Regions from separate parts of the Homo sapiens genome. Here region 1 is linked to region 2. Evidence: promoter capture Hi-C in 16 types of primary human blood cells and fetal thymus (Javierre and others, 2016). All regions are on one chromosome and are shown on one strand. The core of a region is centred on a gene start or on the middle of the fragment in contact, and the rest is flanking DNA. Distances in the headings are between cores, read along the strand shown.

Region 1 (2,700 bases), core at 108-2,607, 1.3 Mb after region 2:
ACCAGTTATTTGGAAAGGAGGGAAAAGAGGTAAAAGGCGAGACCAGTGTGGGTAGGCAGCGGAGAGCCTTCTCTTTCCAGGTATGAGCACATCCACCTTCTCCAACAGCTTCCAAGGTAGGCCATTTAAATGCCAGGGTTTCCTTTTTAAAAAAAAAATGACATTGTTTTAAGGTCTTAAAATTTCAGTTTTCAAAGTTTCTTGCTTTTGGTCATTGGGGAAAATAATATAAACTATTCCCCATTACAGAAGGTAATGAAAAAAAGATCCTCTTCCAATAACAATGTGTGTGGCCAACACAAGCACTGTTCAACCACACAACCTGCACCACAAGCACCTGGAACCACAAAAACAGAGCAGGGACAGCCTGGGCCCAAGGCTGTGCCAGCTGTGGCTCCACACTCCCGTTAAGAAAAGAAAGTGTTATTTTAAAGATTAGTATTACAATCGTAATACCCCTTTTTGTAGAATGTTTGAAGGGCCATTCACCTGCAAAAAGGGGAAACTTGGGCACATTTGGTAAAATAAAGTGACATCAGAGCCCAGTTCCAGGTATCACCAGTCCAGGGCACTCTGGCACATTTTATCAGAAGGAGGAAATGATCTCTCCCCAGCAGACCTCTGCTTCTGCCTCTCCCAACAGGGTCAGGCTGACTTTGTTCCTAAAAGTCTCACACTGTCTTCAGAGAATACTAAACACATAGGACAGTCTTTTCATCCACAAACAAAATGTACTCTGGGCTGGGCACGGTGGCTCACACTTGTAATACCAGCACTTTAGGAGGCCGAGGCAGGTGGATCACTTGAAGTCAGGAGTTCGAGACGAGCCTGGCCAACATGCCCCGTCTCTACTAAAAATACAAAAATTAGCTGGGCATGGTAGCGCATGCCTGTAATCCCAGCCACTAGGGAGGCTGAGGCAGGAGAATTGCTTGAACCTGGGGGGCAGAGGTTTCAGTGAGCTTAAGATCATGCCACTGCACTCCAGCCTGGGCGACAGAGCGAGACTCCGTCTCAAAAAAAAAAAAAAAGTACTCTTACATGTTCCTGGAAACACTTGTCTTGAACCATCTTTTGTTTTTTTCATTCGGACACTCAGGTACCAAAAAAACTACTTTTCTCTTAAATGTTCTAAAAGAAAATCGACAACACAAGCACAGTGATTATTAGCAATGGCCCCAGACCCTAGTATAAAGAAGACAAGAGGGTTGGTGGGGATGGCAAAGGATTCAAGAGTCTGTACTTTGTCTAAAGGGGAAAGTCAGGACTTCGATCTGGCTGCCTGTGCGTCTGGTCATACTTTTCATTTGTGTGTCTTAGGCTGCTGCTAGAGAAGTCATGTTCTCTCCAGGATGCAACTGTTTCATCAGGGCTTCCAACCCGAAATGTATCACTTGACTATATTTTCTTCTCCCATTATAGGATCGAACTGTAAAATTTGTCAGTAAAGTACCTCTCAATACGGCTGCTTAAAAATTGTAGCAAGCATTCAATAATGGTGGTGATCTAAAACAAAAACAAACAGTGCCAAGAAAGGTGGAGAAGGTCAGCAGCAAAGTCACATCTTTGGTATGACTATGGGTCATGCCTTCTTTTCACACCTCATATCTGTTTTGCATCAATTCAGGTTAAAGAGCCTAGTGTAGTGCCTGATACACAGCAGGCACTCAGGAAATGTGAGCTAAATGAAATGAGTTTCCTAAACAACTCTGTACAATAGGTACCAGTGCTGCTGCTCCTATTTTACAAATGGGGGAAGCTAGTCTTAGAGAGTTAGAGCCAGAAAGGTCTAGGAAATTATTTACCCCAATCACCTCAACTTGCATTACAGATGACGAAACTGAGGACCTTTCCAAGGCTGGAGGTGGTGAGGGGGTCAGCACCAGGCCCAGGCCTCCTGACTTTCTCCAGTGATCCTTCTTCTGTACCAGACATGGACAATGGAGGGCAGTCAGGCCTTTCACTGTCACCAAGAGCGACCAATCTTTTCAATAAAGATCAAACTGCTTGACAAAACTCCCTTTTTTGGGGTGGCTGTTTATTATCCCAGAGGGCTCCCTGCTGGCCTGGGAGCCAGTCCCGGTACCACAAGTATATTCTGTTTTTGTCAGATGTCTCTGTAGCCTCTAGATGCCAGTGTGAAATGCACGAGGACACTGATTGGCAGTGATGGACAGATGACAGAAAGGCAAGTCTCTTCTCTTTGTCAGGGGCAGGGCCTCTCTGGCCACAAGGCCACCCATCTCTGAAGGTTAACATTCCGACAAGCTGGTATGCAAGTGACTCTCTTTAGCCACTGCCCACCGGAAGTGCCCTGAGAATTGCTTTTGTCATATAATCTTATTCTGCCATTCAATTCCAACCAAGAAGCATGAAAATATAGTCAAACAAGTCACTAGAAGAGCACTGATCAGTGGGTCAGGTGTCACACACTCGAAGGCTCTGGATCCCAAGGTACATTCTGCCAGGAAGAATTCCACCAGGAAGCCAGCCAGCTAAGAAGTCAATGCTCCTTTAACACTCCCAAGAGTACTTCGATTGAACCCAGATGAAGCTCAAAACAGGAAAGTCCTCTCTGTCTATAGGCATTCCCTTCAATTACACCATTCTGTTTGCTCCATCCAAAAAAGGAGGAAACACAGAACTGCTCTGAGGGTCCTTGGCAGACAGTTAAGGACACGTAGGGTACTCCTATGCCCG
Region 2 (2,700 bases), core at 66-2,565:
TGAATTATGGTTTTGACTTTATAGCCAAATTCATTGAGTTTTCCTCCAATGTTAGTCTCTTTCTTCCTCTAATGCTGTTATTTCCTTACCTTGCTTCACACCTAGCAATATCCGTTTACACATGTGAAAGACCAACTTAGTGAAGTATTTTGTTGACTGTTTACAATAGTAAGCAACGACTTCAGGTTAGCTTAATTAAGGAGAATAGGAAAAATATATGGTTTTTTTTTTTATAGGGAGATAAGAAGGAACTCTTTGGAATAAGAGGTGGGATTTCTGTTTTCCCCAAAGTCAATTAGATGTCAAATGCTACTTGTTACCAACTTTCCAAAATCCCATTAGAGACCTTGTAATTTGATCCAGAGAGAACAGCATTAAGAGTCAGGTAAAAGGAAAAACTGACTTCATTCTTCATTCCTTTCCTAAATCCTGAGAAATGTGTATACCTCAACACTCCCTTTTCCAATCCCGCAAAACAGGGAATCAGGAAAACACATTAGCACCCTAGTACAGACTAGGAATACAGAGCTGGGAGGAGACTCAGTGCCGTCAAGACAAGGAAACTGGGGGAGGGGAAGGAAAACTTCCCCTCGTTGGACAATCTGAGGGCTGCAGTGGGAAGAGAAGGGAAGTGGGGAAATGTACCTCAGACGTCGGCCAGACACTTTGCCTCTGGGCATGTGGGAAAGTGAGGGAGGAGGGAAAAGCGCTGCACCACAGCGAGATAGCAACAGCTCCTGCGGCTGCTTTTGAGTGAAGATCAGTAGAGATAGAGCGTGCCGCTTCACATCTTCCTCCCGGAGGCCATTTCTCCATTTTTATGTGGGATAAAAAGGGGGCGCTGGGCTGAGTCAGTATAAGCCAAAGTTGCCGCCTCTTGCGCAGCCGACCCCGCTTCGGCCCCGGCCCAGGCCAGAGAGGTGGCCCTCGGAGATGCTGAAGTTACTCCGCGCAGGGGGAGGGGTCGCCAGGCTCCTCTCCAATCACGGTGGCCGCTCCAGCTATTTGCATACATTATGCTAATAACAGACCTCCTGCCCCGCTCCCACCCAAGCTTCCCGCCTCCCTTGGGGGTTCCCCGGGCCGGCCCGCGGGCTGGGCCAAGGTGAATACATTATGATAATAAGGCGGGCTCCTGCTTTGCCTTCGGAAGGGGGGCGCGCAGCAGCGGGAGCGGCAGGCCGGACGCCGGGCGCCGGGAGGGGGTCGGGGGAGGGACGTCGTGCTCGGAGCGCGCGCGCACTCACACACTCACACACACACTCACGCGAGCATCGCGAAGGGTATTTAAGGATCGCGCACGCGGGGCTGCGGAGATCCTTCGGGCAGCCGCGACTTCGGCTTCGCGAGTAGCATTGGTTCCTTGGGTTTATTTCGTTTTCCTCTCTCTTCTCCACCTTAGTCGCCCCTTTCGCGCTGCGCTGTAGCGTGCTCTCACAGCCTTTTTGCCTTGAACTGAATGCAGGTGGGAAACAGGTCGGCGTGCCGAAAGACACCGAGTAGGTAGAAATAAGGCAAACTCACAGAGGCGCAACAGGTCCGGTCCTCCGTGGCCAGGGCGAGCCGCGGCCCCGCGTGGCGCCTCGGCCGTTGCCCTCGGACCCTGAGCGGCCACTGTTGGGGCCCTCGAAAGAGGTGTCGGTCCTCTGGGAGTCGGAAGAGCTGTCTGGGTGGGTTTCGTCTTGCTTTTTACCCCACCGCCACCCAGTCCCCGGACGGAGGGTGCTTTTCACTTCCAGCTGGGAGGAGAGAAGAAAGCGGGGATGGTGCACGCCTGCGGGTCTGGACGCTGAGCAAGGCAGGGGTCCGTATCCGCTCGTGGGCTTGACTCCACCAACTAGTTGTGCAGCCACAGGGACTGAACTTTGGAGGAATCGACCTTTTTCTTTCCTTTTAGGATTATTTGAGGTGTAGAGGGTGGGAAGCGAAGCCGAGACGGCCGACCCCGCCACGATGCTGCTGAAGAAGCACGCAGGGAAAGGAGGGGGCCGGGAGCCCAGATCCGAGGACCCGACCCCTGCCGAACAGCATTGTGCCCGGACCATGCCCCCGTGTGCCGTCCTGGCGGCCCTCCTGTCAGTGGTGGCCGTGGTGTCTTGCCTGTACCTGGGTGTGAAAACCAACGACCTCCAGGCGAGGATCGCCGCTCTCGAATCCGCCAAAGGGGCCCCTTCCATTCATCTGCTGCCTGATACCCTGGATCACCTCAAGACTATGGTGCAAGAGAAAGTGGAGCGACTTCTGGCTCAGGTGTGAGAGGCTGGGGTATTTTGCACGTGGGTAACATCTTGTACAAGCGTGACTCTGTGTGCATGACTAGCCGCTACCCTTACTGTACCCATACTTGGTGTGGCTGTGTGTGTGCGCGCGCGTGCATGTGTTGGCCAAGGATCTATGCTCACTGTAGCATATATTTATATGTGCACATCCCTTGATGTCCCCATCCCTATCTCTAATCTTCCCTCACTCTCTCTTAATGTTTGCGTGTTAAACACATAGGAAGGTCTAAAAGGGTTCGGAAAGGGCATTTTATCTCTTTTTAGTTGTCCTAAGTCAAACCCAATTGTGGAGAGAATATTTCTTGCAGAGATAGCATCTGTTAAATCTTTTACATGTTGTAAGATGGTTAGGGTCATAGATGTTATTAATATATAAAAAAGGTAATCACTCTTAAATGTAAAATAATGTCATATATAATTT

Evidence for each region. Contacts are between HindIII fragments. The CHiCAGO score rates a contact against its expected background, and 5 or more counts as called.
Region 1: a contact is called between a fragment that was not itself captured here and the fragment with the promoter of COL25A1 in region 2, in 1 of 17 cell types (fetal thymus). The highest score is 5.6, in fetal thymus.

Annotation. Positions count from the first base shown.
Region 1 is chr4:108,015,888-108,018,587 of GRCh38, reverse strand. All of the region lies in intron 3 of HADH (hydroxyacyl-CoA dehydrogenase), which reads right to left. Among named protein-coding and RNA genes, the nearest start is that of HADH, 27 kb to the right of the region's middle. The HindIII fragment of the contact is 3,162 bases long and covers 1-2,700 here.
Region 2 is chr4:109,301,273-109,303,972 of GRCh38, reverse strand. COL25A1 (collagen type XXV alpha 1 chain) reads left to right here and starts at 1,315. Exons shown (of 38, transcript NM_198721.4): 1 at 1,315-1,804; 2 at 1,898-2,250. The coding sequence starts at 1,954. It overlaps COL25A1-DT (COL25A1 divergent transcript), which reads right to left and starts at 938. Exons shown (of 3, transcript NR_160939.1): 1 at 646-938. RefSeq lists an enhancer at 461-1,243. The HindIII fragment of the contact is 6,447 bases long and covers 1,057-2,700 here.